Linked DNA regions of Homo sapiens: all the other regions are linked to region 2. Evidence: promoter capture Hi-C in 16 types of primary human blood cells and fetal thymus (Javierre and others, 2016). All regions are on one chromosome and are shown on one strand. Each heading gives the region's core, a stretch centred on a gene start or on the middle of the fragment in contact. The rest is flanking DNA. Distances are from core to core; before and after follow the strand shown. Region 1 has its middle 75 kb from the start of EDA2R. Region 2 holds the start of LAS1L (LAS1 like ribosome biogenesis factor). Region 3 has its middle 93 kb from the start of EDA2R. Region 4 overlaps AMER1 (APC membrane recruitment protein 1).

Region 1 (3,148 bases), core at 91-2,590, 1.2 Mb before region 2:
CCATGCTCATGGCTAGGAAGAATAAATATCGTGAAAATGGCCATACTGCCCAAGGTAATTTACAGATTCAATGCCATCCCCATCAAGCTACCAATGACTTTCTTCACAGAATTGGAAAAAACTACTTTAAAGTTCATATGGAACCAAAAAAGAGCCCGCATCACCAAGTCAATCCTAAGCCAAAAGAACAAAGCTGGAGGCATCACACTACCTGACTTCAAACTATACTACAAGGCTACAGTAACCAAAACAGCATGGTACTGGTACCAAAACAGAGATATAGATCAATGGAACAGAACAGAGTCCTCAGAAATAACGCCACATATCTACAACCAACTGATCTTTGACAAAGCTGACAAAAACAAGCAATGGGGAAAGGATTCCCTGTTTAATAAATGGTGCTGGGAAAACTGGCTAGCCATATGTAGAAAGCTGAAACTGGATCCCTTCCTTACACCTTATACAAAAATCAATTCAAGATGGATTAAAGACTTAAATGTTAGACCTAAAACCATAAAACCCTAGAAGAAAACCTAGGCATTACCATTCAGGACGTAGGCATGGGCAAGGACTTCATGTCTAAAACACCAAAAGCAATGGCAACAAAAGACAAAATTGATAAATGGGATCTAATTAAACTAAAGAGCTGCACAGCAAAAGAAACTACCATCAGAGTGAACAGGAAACCTACAGAATGGGAGAAAATTTTCGCAACCTACTCATCTGACAAAGGGCTAATATCCAGAATCTACAATGAACTCAAACAAATTTACAAGAAAAAAACAAACAACCCCATCAAAAAGTGGGCGAAGGACATGAACAGACACTTCTCAAAAGAAGACATTTATGCAGCCAAAAAACACATGAAAAAATGCTCATCATCACTGGCCATCAGAGAAATTCAAATCAAAACCACAATGAGATACCATCTCACACCAGTTAGAATGGTGATCATTAAAAAGTCAGGAAACAACAGGTGCTGGAGAGGATGTGGAGAAATAGGAACACTTTTACACTGTTGGTGGGACTGTAAACTAGTTCAACCATTGTGGAAGTCAGTGTGGCGATTCCTCAGGGATCTAGAACTGGAAATACCATTTGACCCAGCCATCCCATTACTGGGTATATACCCAAAGGACTACAAATCATGCTGCTATAAAGACACATGCACACATATGTTTATTGCAGCATTATTCACAATAGCAAAGACTTGGAACCAACCCAAATGTCCAACAATGATAGACTGGATTAAGAAAATGTGGCACATATACACCATGGAATACTATGCAGCCATAAAAAATGATGAGTTCATGTCCTTTGTAGGGACATGGATGAAATTGGAAATCATCATTCTCAGTAAACTATCGCAAGAAGAAAAAACCAAACACCGCATATTCTCACTCATAGGTGGGAATTGAACAATGAGATCACATGGACACAGGAAGGGGAATATCACACTCTGGGGACTGTTGTGGGGTGGGGAGAGGGCGGAGGGATAGCACTGGGAGATATACCTAATGCTAGATGATGAGTTAGTGGGTGCAGTGCACCAGCATGGCACATGTATACATATGTAACTAACCTGCACAATGTGCACATGTACCCTAAAACTTAAAGTATAATAAAAAAAAAAAGAAAGAGCTGAAGTAAAAGAGGACTGAAAAACATGTCAACTGGCTTTATTGACATGAAAATCATTGGGTACCTTGCAAAAACTGAAGTTGGATGGTGCCAGGAGGTAGAAGCCCTGTTAGAGTAGGTTGAGAAGCATATGAAAGTTGGAGAAGCCCTGCCAGCTGTCTATGAAAGGCAGAGAAAAATGAGGAGATTTTAAAGGAGGGGGTGGAATTCTGTTTTTATTTTCCCGTTAGCTCTTAAATTTTTCCTTTTTTTCTGAGTCTCCATTGTGACAGCCTAGTTTCAGGCCCTCATTACTATTGCCTGAACTATTACAATGGCATTCTCAGTGGATTCTGTCGACCTACTCCTCCAGATCTATTCTCCACACTGCTGCCAGAATGGTCTCTCCAAAACCTGGATCTAACAACGTAACTCCCTTACTTGAAATATTTGAATGGTTCTATAGGTACGAGATAATATCCCCGTCCTGACCATCTCTTGGCATCATACCTGCCCTTGACCTTTGCAATTCCCTGAAGATACCTGCTATTTTGTGTTTCTGTTCCTTTGACCCTACTGTTTCTCTTTTCTATAATGCCTTGTCCTCACCTGGTTTGCCTAGTAAATTCCTGTTTGTCCTTATTCATGCCATAACTTACTCTTTGAAATATTTTCTTACCCCCTCAGACAGTTTATTACTTTCCTCTACTATTTCTGTTTTGTACATACTTCCATGTTTACATGAACACACTATATTGTAATAATTTGTTGACATGTCTGTCACCCAAGTAGACTGTGAGTATGTGAAGGTACTGGCCATGCCTTTTGCCTCTTTATCCATCCCCAGTTCCACACACTGTCCCTAGCCCATAGTAAGTGCTCTAACAAGAAAAAAAATCATTTTTCAAGACAAAGCCACAAAAAGTCATAGAGAAAATGATTGAGAAATTTGAATATATCAATACTAAAATGAAATGAGGTAAACTGTATACCATATCCTTCTCAGACAAGACTTCTGAAGTGTCTTCACCTTTTCACATCCTTCCTCTCATTAGCCTCATGATTTCCCTCACTGCCCCAGTAGAGACAGGTGCTACCTCCAATGCTTTATAATTCCCACACCTAAAACTTCCCTAACCGCCTGTGAAAACAATGTCATCCTGAAGTTTTTCCTAGTTCTTATTGAGACAATTAATATTCACCACCTGTTCAGCTTGCTGGGGGAACAAGGACCTGAATTTACATCCTACTGTGTCAAGAACCACTTCCTCTTGTTTGCCCTAAGTCTACCTTGATTCACTCATTTCTAGCTTCCAAACAATCTGGATCACAATTAAAGAGGAAGAGGCCTTAGACGGCCACACTTCAGTGTGTATTTATTTTCATTTTCAGTTCTATTGCATTCTGAATGTAATTATGTTTATATGGAGTATGAGTGTCCAAATTAAATAACCCATGCTGTATTCTCAATTTACATTCCACAGGGCACTGTACCCAAAATGACCACAGAGGATAATATTATGCTGTG
Region 2 (3,277 bases), core at 302-2,801:
TGGCCAACATGGTGAAACCCTGTCTCTACTAACAATACAAAAATTAGCCAAGCATAGTGGCAGGCGCCTGTAATCCCAGCTACTTGGAAGGCTGAGGCAAGAGAATCACTTGAACCCTGGAGGTAGAGGTTGCAGTGAGCCGAGAATTGTGCCACTGCACTCCAGCCTGGGCGACTGGGCCAGACGCCATGTCAAAAAAAAAAAGAAAAAGAAAAAAAGAAAAATAAAATAACTATAGGCAGACTATATCTTAGGAAAAGTTGGCTGGAGAAAGAAGCACATATAGAGGATGAATTGGGATTTGTTGCTGTGAAGCGTAAAAGTGCCACTCACAGCAATGCTGTTAAGATCGTTAGCAACAGTTCTCTCTCTCTCTCTCTCAAGTGTTACATTGGAAAATAACTTCTGCAAGAAGGATTGGGACATAGTCCTAAACATATTTCAGTCAACTCGTAAAATCGGAGGAACTTCATAATACCGCTTTTCTCCCAGAACTCCAAAATACCAAGGAATTTTGCAGAAAAACTAAGTATACCTTGGTGGATGTTGAAACCAACATAGCAGTGGAATGTTGGCAGAGTAAAATTCTACAATTTTCTGCTATGACAGAGAACCTAGAGACCAGTCTACAACTCTCACTGTACAGATGGGAAAACTGAGACTAGTCTAAGTCCACATAGTTAGTGGCAAAATTTAGAGTAAAACTCAGGTCTCTAGGCTGGTATTTATTTATTTATTTATGTATGTATTTATTTAATTTACTTTTGAGACAGAGTCTCGATCTGTCACCCAGGGTGGAGTGCACTGGTGCGATCTTGGCTTGTTGCAGCCTCCGCCTCCCGGATTCAAGCGATTCTTGTGCCTCAGCCTCCTGAGTAACTGGGATTACAGGCATGTGCAACCATGCTTAGCTAATTTTTGTATTTTTACTAGAGACCGGGTTTCACCATTTTGGCCAGGCTGGTCTGGAACTCCTGACCTCAAGTGATCCGCCCGCCTGGGCCTCCCAATGTGCTGGGATTACAGGCGTGAGCCACCACGCCTGGCCAGGCTGGTACTAATTTAAAAGGCAGGGCCCCTGGTTACCTGCCACAAAAGCAGATTTTTTCAACCCAACTGTAACTGTTTCGATATGAGATATTTCCTCTGTAGCCCTGCTTCAGTGTCCAGTGTTTTACTAGGTTAGGTCCTGATTCACGGCAATAAAAATATACTTAAAATCGCATTTTCAGTTCACTGGATGACTACAATCAAGCTGCCACCCGCCGAGGGGAGCAAAATAAAATTCCTCTTGCAGTGAAGACATACCGCTTCCGGTCTGGTACAGAAGCCGGTTAGCAACCAGGAAATTGGCGGAACCTAGAGGCTGAACTCTTGCCCCTGGAGGGTTTGCTTTGTGAAAAGAACACTTCCGGCCGGTGAGTTTTTAACCCCGCATGTCATTAGGTCGGCGCCCAATTCTGACGTTCCGATTGGCCATGCTGACGCTGGAAGGCGGGCTTGCGTATGGGGTCACGCTCTCCTATTGGCTGCTGGTGCGGTGGCGGTTCGGAGTGAGGGTAGCACGCTGAGCTGAAGGCTGTGCGGAGCGGCGCGGCACAGAGCCTGTTGTTGAGCTCAGTATGTCGTGGGAATCCGGGGCCGGGCCAGGTCTAGGTTCCCAGGGGATGGATCTCGTGTGGAGTGCGTGGTACGGAAAGTGCGTTAAAGGGAAAGGGTCGTTGCCACTCTCGGCCCACGGCATCGTGGTCGCCTGGCTCAGCAGGGCCGAGTGGGACCAGGTGACGGTTTATCTGTTCTGTGACGACCATAAGTTGCAGCGGTACGCGCTTAACCGCATCACGGTGTGGAGGAGCAGGTAAGGTGGCGGGTTCGGCCCTTTTGCCTGCGTGCTGGTGGCGCTGCACCTCTTCCTTTGTCGAGTTTCTATAAGGCCCTGTTCTCCAGTCTTCCCCTAAGTCGCCTAAAGTTGTCCCTCTCCCAAATGCCTGGGGGAACGCGGCAGCCATCTCTTGCGCTAATCCCGTTAGCGGAATGGAAAGTAAGGGGTTGTGCCTCAACAATTCTCTTGTTATATCTGTGAGGTTTACCCATTACCTCCAAAAAGTGACTTTCTCCCAACTTGGAGAGGATGCCGGAGGGACTAGTGAGGCCTGAGCCAGGGCTTAAGGAGTAGATTAGTACCCTAGGGTAGATTTCCGATTCCAATGGGGAGGAAGTCTTGCCTGCAAGACAGTGTTTGAGTGGGGCGCCTCAGTCCAGTTGGTAAGATTGAGTTGGGAGCCGACTTACAAGGGATAAGGGGCTCCTCTAGCTCAATGAGTTGATTTGGGGGTGAAAGAAAGGGGTGTGTCCACACAACTGTTGATGGACAGTCTACCAGTTAGGTGTCCTGTATACGGCCTAGTCAGCTCCTCATGCCCTGTATACTGTTGGATCCCACAGACATTACCGTGTCTCCTCCCACCTTCTTGTTTTGTGTCTGTTCATGCTCTCTTGAACCAGAATATGATGGGTGTAGCCTGCAACAACCTAGGTTCTGAGGTGGAGGGTGGACCAGTGTAAGGGCTCTTTATGATGGTGCTGGACTGTGACCCTTTAGGTCAGGCAACGAACTCCCTCTGGCAGTGGCTTCTACTGCTGACCTGATACGCTGTAAGCTCTTGGATGTAACTGGTGGCTTGGGCACTGATGAACTTAGACTGCTCTATGGCATGGCATTGGTCAGGTAAGACCTGCATGGGGTAGGGGTGGAGGTTGGCTTTGGGGACTGGAGGCAGGGGAGGCATGTGATAAGCAAAACTTGGCTTCAGGTGTTACCTGAAGCAAAACCCTGCGTGTACCTCACTGTGGATCAGCCTGTGATTATTGCTTGACTTATCAGCTTTTGGTACCCTCGTCAACGCATTCCTCTTTTTCTTCCTTTTTCCTGAAAGCCTTCTCTTCCATTTTTCTTTCTATCTTGGAATGTGGAGGAAGGGATTCAGACCAGGTGATCTCTGTGGGTCTCTTGGTGGTCTGATATTTTTTCTTACCTTTGAATTCCTCACCCAGAGGAACTTGTCTGAATGGCTCAGGGTCCTCGCCTGTGATTTAATGTGGACTTTCCAACCCTGTCCCTGTCTATTCCTAGCACTACCCTTTTCCCCTTCTCTCCCTCATGAACACTGAAAGATTGCTGAGTTATGGAAGTGGAGACATGGGCTGGGAATTCCTGACTTACAAAGTGACTCATAATGGTTCTAGCTGTATACACGTCGGAAAAAAAGGTTGCTAC
Region 3 (3,024 bases), core at 252-2,751, 1.2 Mb before region 2:
TATGTTTAATTAATCCTTTAAGTCTTAGTTCTTACACTTCCTTCCTTGATTACTACCATGAAGCAAGGAGTCTTACCAGACTATCTCCATCTGGAGGAAAAAAGAACTACAAAATATCCAAAAGACTTATTCTTTTCTACATGATTGCAGTGTTAAAGTACAATTAACTTGTATTTCTATAATTATTTGTATTATAGAGACAGCTGTACAAAATTGTTAGTATAGGAAGGATACTGTGGATATCAGAAGGTATGATGGTTACATAGTAATGTTAGTATTCCTTGTGTACACCTGTTAGTTTTGCAATCTGTTTTCTTAAGTATTTGTTTAAATTTTTGTGGGTACATAATAGGTGTTTGTATTTATGGGGCAATGTGATATTTTGATACAGGCATACAGTGTGAACTAAGCACATCATGGAGAATGGGGTTTCCATCCTCTCAAGCATTTATCTTTGCAATCTGTTTTGAATTATTATAGTTCTAACTCACTGTTATTTAGAGTGGAATTAGATGAGAGGATATTTATGAAATGAAAAAAGGCTGTTACATTGTAGTGAAGTAAACAGGCAAAGGGCTGTAGACTTTCATATTAAACCTAGGGCGTATAGAAATTTTTAACTTAGTGTTGTGTTTATAGGCATGTCTGTTTTTTTTTTTTTTACAAAAATAAATTTGGACGCTAAGAGCAAGCACTCTCCAATATGTACCAGCACAATTTTTTGGAGTGATGATGGATACTGCTCCTTTGTATATCATCAATTGACTTAATACCGGTGTGATTCAAGTGTAGATTAAAGCTTACAATGATACTGATGTGGTGTCTTATGTTACAGATGTTAAAATAACTGATAGCATTAGAAGACTCTTGACAAGAAAAAGAAAACATTACCGATGCCTTACTATAACACTATTTCTAATTTGTACAACACTTTGACAAAGCAGTTTCACTGAATCTCACTAAAACCTTATGGGCATTGTAATCTTCATTTTACAAACGAGAAAACTGAAGGTCAGAGAGGAGAGCATGGAACTAGTAGGGGATCACACAAACAAGAAGTTGAGCTGGGACCAGAATAAAATGCTTTTGACTCCCAGTTTAGTGGTCTTCTCATTACACTGCTTTACATCTGATATTGATAAGGATTTTCTAAAAGATAAAATTATTACTTTTTAAACAGCTGCTTGGCTTTTGATTTACCCATTAAGTTTACAAAATAGAAAACAATTATGCTACTGTCTTCCATATTATACTTAACCACATCTCTCTCAATTTTTAGAGAAGAGAGGCAAAACCATTAATAAATAAAATAAGTTATGATATATGATAATAATGAGCTTCAGACTCATTATTTGATCAGTGCTGTGACACACAAAGCTATATGTACATCTTTGACTCCACCTCTATCAATGCCTCATGATTATTCTTATAGAAGACTCTCACTTTAATAAGAAAAATCAAATAACATTACATATTTATTATTACTACATTAAAACCCAGAACTGTCTTATTAACTTTGCAGTGATTCTTATTATTAAAAATATGAAGATACAAGTCTGCATGTAAAAGGTTAAATTTTTCATGACCTGCAAATCTTTCTTATTAGAATATTTTCATTTCTAGCTATCCAGAGGAAATATATTATTACTTGATTGAAATTGACTGAAGCCTATCAGCAAACTCTAAATGGCAATTCAACAAATATTTCCTGAGTTCTTACTATAAATAAGGCATTGAGCTAGATTGTGAGGGATGTAATCTTTTATAAGAAATAAATCATGCTCTTGAGATGTTGACTTTTTTAAACACCTATTATTATCAAGTATACTTTACCAGGGTCCATGAGTTACTTATCTCAGTGCTCTTCTCCAGTCTCCTTTTAACTGAGTTTCTTGAATTTTAGTATATTCTCACTAAATGGCATTTTTTCTAGAAACCAATTCAACAAGGAATTGGAAAACTCATTCTTTTTATTCAGCTACCTAAAAATAGAGGATAATACACGCCTCCATAAACAACTTAAAAATAGTCAACATAGAAGTACAATATAATATGCCAGAATACAGGAAGACTTCCTAAAGGAGAAAAAGATTTTAAAGTAGGAAATAGACAGTCCTTATATGTGATCATATTCAGAAATATTTAAAAAAGAGACATACAATAAAAATTAAAAGTTGGGAATGTGAGAATTATCAAAGCTTGAATTCAAATCCAGACTTCCATCACTTACTATTTATGTGCCCTTGATAGATGCCCTTATTCCCTGTTTTAGTTTGCTCATGGTAACATTAAGGGTTGGGAGTCACGCTAATAGGAGTGAGCGTTAAAGCTAATAAAACAAAATCACTACCATTTATTAAGCATGTGAGAAACTCAGCCTGTAAGCCCTATAGTTACTGATTACCTATAATCCACAGAAGGGGGCAGTATAGCATAATAAATCAGATTGTGAGCTCCTGTTAGAGACTTGGCACTGAAGGATTACAAAGCCTTGAAATGGACCACTTGGGACATGACCAGTGAGCACCAGAAGGCAGCCATGAGGGACTGCTGAAGACTACATAACCCATTTTTTTTTTCTGGACTACTTAAACCTGGTTTAAGCCTGGCAGTTCTGTGTAATGTTAGAAAGCTGCAAGGAAAAAAAAAAAAAAAAAGACTGACTTTTGATTTCCCACCAATCTTGCCTGGGGAACTGAGACATTTACATACTACTTACCTGGTTTCAAACATTATTGTAAGTATTTTACATAAATAACTCATTTAATCTTCACATCAGCCTTACTATTGTTCTTCCATTTCACAAATGAGGAAACTGAGGCTTAGAGAGGTGAAGTCACTTGCCCAAAGTCACACAACTAGAAAGTGGTAATGCTGGAATTTGAACTCAGCAGAAAAACTAGATCTAGAGTCTGGCTTTTAGTCACAAAGCAAAACAACACAAATGTATGGGCTAAAAGAGTATGGCCTCTGGAATTAGACTGCCTGAGTTCCTATTGAAGCTCTGCTCTTTGCCAGCTGTGT
Region 4 (3,223 bases), core at 529-3,028, 1.3 Mb after region 2:
TGTGGTCCATGGCTCCTTCCACAACACACTGCAGCTCCCTGTGACAGGAAAGGGGACAATACAGAGAGAGGTGAGTGGGCTGGCCTCTACCCTCACAGAGCATAGGAGCAAGGGCAAGGGAAAGCCCAAAGAGACTGTCTTCTAACTGGGGCGTCAAGGCTCTGGAAAGCAGCCTTCTTTGTGATTCAATTTGCCAAATCACTCTGTTCCCAGGAACTCCAGCCCCAAACCCAGCAGGACAAGTCAGCCTTTGATTCACAAGGATGTGTAGGTCCTAGAGTTTTTCACTTGGCTGTGAGGTTTTCCTTGAGGCCCAGCCTTACTGCCCAAGAAGTGTCTTTCTCCCTTTCACATTTATCTTGGAATATGTTTACAAGGTATAAAGAATGATACTCCACCAACCAGCTTTAGAAATAACAGGGGCTATTCTTTAAGGCAGCGGTTCCCAACCTTTTTGGAACCAGGGACCTGTTTCATGGAAGACAATTTTTCCATGGATGGAGAGGAGGAAGGTTTTGGGATAAAAGTGTTCCATCTCAGATCATCAGGCATTTGTTAGATTCTCATAAGGAGAGTGCACCCTAGATCCTTCGCATGCGCAGTTTGCAATAGGGTTCACGCTCCTATGAGAATCTAATGCCTCTGCTGATCTGACAGAAGGCAGAGCTCAGGTAATGTTCACCTTGCCCTCCTGCCTGCCGGTCACTTCCTGTTGTTTGGTCCAGTTTCTAACAGACTGTTACATATAGGACTCTCCCTGTTAGCCTAGGAGCTCCTTAGAAGCAAAGGCTGGGAGTTCTCCCTTCTTGTCCTGCCCTGAAGCACTGAATTCCAGAGGGGAATAGAATTTCACAAACAACTCCAGTACTGCCTCCCCAACTCCCCTATCCCCAACACCGTGACGATAACCTTAGCAGTAATTTTAAGGCTGAGGTAAAAATGTGCTGTGGAAAGTGGGGCATTCAGACATGATAGGGCCCCTATTCCCACCAGACCCAGGGGCAGAAAACTGGGTGATTGTGTGTTTAGGTGTGATTGTGTGTGTATTTGGAGGTGGGAGGGGGCACTGTCTATTGTGGGACTATCAGTTGCAGGGCTGAGTTGGAACAGTGTGATGTCAAAATATGTTACAGAAAAATCTCTAACCTGAGCAAATGGCAATTCAGATCTCTGCAGAGAGAGGTTCAGATGAACTTTCCTTTTCACCTGCTCTTTTCTTTTCTGGATAACCAGCTGTTATCTTGCTCCAATTTTAATATTCAGTTATGCAGAGTGTTCTTTATGGAAGCTTGGATCATCACACTGATGATTCAAGTGTCAAGCCAAGCAAGGCAGCAGGCACAAAATTAATGTTTGCAAGACAGAACCAGGGGCTCCAAGGCTAGAGTGTAGCTGCCAGCCTCTTTCCATGCTCAGTGCTGGTCCACAGTCTTCCACTTTAGGTGAATGTGTGAGTCTTATTATTATGGCAAGCAATCACAGGCCTGGTGTACTGTCCAGCTGTTCTTGGACCAAGGGTGCTTGCTTCTCTCTCCCTCTCTTACTCTTCCTTCCCTCCCCTTCCCCTTCCCCTCTCCCCTCTCCTCCCAGATTCCCCCATCTGCTGGTGCCACTCTACAGAGAGGGGACAAATTGGTGAGGGACTTCCCAGGGAGGGGTCATTGGGTTTTAGCAGGCTGGTCACTGAGCTAGCGGATGACCAGAGGTGCAGAGGTATATTGTGGTGGGTAGTGGCTAGGTCTTGTTTTTATTCCATCTCTGTTGGTATTTGGGCATTTGGAGGATTGAGAGCCTTGACCAGAAGGGTGTGGCTTGCACCAGGTTTATTTATTTAAAAAGCCATTGGGAACCTATCTCACACACCAGGAATATGAATCATGTAGGGCCTTCAAGGAGTTCCCTTCCTAGATAGGGAGCTAGATGGGGACAAAAATAATAAGAGGAGGAGAGTAGAGGAGAAACAGTCCACCTCATGGTTCTCAAGTGGAATTTGGGGTTCCATTGATGACCGCATTAAAGTATCTTCCCAGCAGGACAGCCAATAGAGGGTCTGGCTTAGACCCACCCTCATATCACCTCTCTGAGGGAGAGATATTGATAGGCCTCTTGAATGGCGAATATTGAAGCCCAGAGAGTACCTTTCTTGAGGCTCCCATTTCATTGTCTTAGCAGGTTCTAGATTGCAGACCTACTTTGTGGATGTGTGAGGCTCCTATTCTGAGATTCTGAAGCCTGAGCATGGTTCTGCAGGCAATTTAGGAAGCTTTGGATGGGAGGTGAAACTTCAGGTCCACTTTTCAGTCTCAGACAAAATGTCAGTGAGAGCCCAGACTAATATGAAACTGAAGCTTGAATCCAACAGAGCCCTGTGAGGACTCAATGGACTGTTTTGCCAGATGGTTTTCAAAAATTCTGTGATGTTGGAGCCAACATCCCTTTTGCCTTTCTTGTCTCTCCCTATCCTCATCCCCTTTGATAATTGATAATACCTCCCACAGCCAATAGCACCACTAGGCCTTTCACACAACTGCAGGTCCCCCTGCCCAGTGGTCCCCTGAGCTTAGGATGGTCTGAAGGGAGTGGACCCAGCAAGAAGGTAGGGGATGAAGGCTTCTTGTTGCTCAGTGTAGAGTTTTGCTTCCTTGGGGCCCAGAGAGAGCTGGCCCAGCAAGCCAAGCATATCGAGTGGATTAAGATTTGCCCCACATTTTCCATCATTTTCTTTCTTGTTCCACTCAAGCCTGACGTCCGGTGAAAGCAAACCCAGCCTGGATGCTTGCTCACTAGTATCTGTCTCTCTGTCTTTGTCTCTCCTATCTCCTCCAGACCCCACTGTGATGCTTCCTGACTGATAATGTTATAACAGTGCCTGGAAGCCTGAGGCTGCATTTCCAGCTGGACGTACCTCAGTTGTCCCCATCATCATGGAGACCCAAAAGGATGAAGCTGCTCAGGCCAAGGGAGCTGCAGCCTCTGGGAGTACCCGTGAACAAACAGCAGAAAAAGGAGCCAAGAACAAGGCAGCTGAGGCGACAGAAGGACCAACCTCAGAGCCATCCTCATCCGGCCCAGGTAGGCTGAAGAAAACTGCCATGAAACTCTTTGGTGGCAAGAAGGGTATCTGTACTCTGCCTAGTTTCTTTGGAGGGGGACGGAGCAAAGGTTCTGGGAAAGGCAGCTCCAAGAAAGGTCTCAGCAAGAGCAAGACCCACGATGGCCTGAG

The links. The method cuts DNA at HindIII sites, captures the fragments that hold promoters and counts their contacts. A CHiCAGO score of 5 or more calls a contact.
Region 1: a contact is called between a fragment that was not itself captured here and the fragment with the promoter of LAS1L in region 2, in 1 of 17 cell types (neutrophils). The highest score is 5.7, in neutrophils.
Region 3: a contact is called between a fragment that was not itself captured here and the fragment with the promoter of LAS1L in region 2, in 5 of 17 cell types (non-activated CD4 T cells, naive CD8 T cells, total CD4 T cells and 2 more). The highest score is 8.2, in non-activated CD4 T cells.
Region 4: a contact is called between a fragment that was not itself captured here and the fragment with the promoter of LAS1L in region 2, in 2 of 17 cell types (naive CD8 T cells and total CD8 T cells). The highest score is 6.1, in naive CD8 T cells.

What each region holds. Positions count from the first base shown.
Region 1 is chrX:66,712,033-66,715,180 of GRCh38, reverse strand. No RefSeq gene overlaps it. Among named protein-coding and RNA genes, the nearest start is that of EDA2R, 75 kb to the right of the region's middle. The HindIII fragment of the contact is 4,418 bases long and covers 1-3,148 here.
Region 2 is chrX:65,533,061-65,536,337 of GRCh38, reverse strand. LAS1L (LAS1 like ribosome biogenesis factor) reads left to right here and starts at 1,551. Exons shown (of 14, transcript NM_031206.7): 1 at 1,551-1,858; 2 at 2,603-2,728. The coding sequence starts at 1,623. RefSeq lists an enhancer at 1,277-1,456. The HindIII fragment of the contact is 19,270 bases long and covers 1-3,277 here.
Region 3 is chrX:66,731,007-66,734,030 of GRCh38, reverse strand. No RefSeq gene overlaps it. Among named protein-coding and RNA genes, the nearest start is that of EDA2R, 93 kb to the right of the region's middle. The HindIII fragment of the contact is 1,399 bases long and covers 802-2,200 here.
Region 4 is chrX:64,192,988-64,196,210 of GRCh38, reverse strand. It overlaps AMER1 (APC membrane recruitment protein 1), which reads left to right. Exons shown (of 2, transcript NM_152424.4): 2 at 2,827-3,223. The coding sequence starts at 2,925. Among named protein-coding and RNA genes, the nearest start is that of AMER1, 11 kb to the left of the region's middle. The HindIII fragment of the contact is 975 bases long and covers 1,291-2,265 here.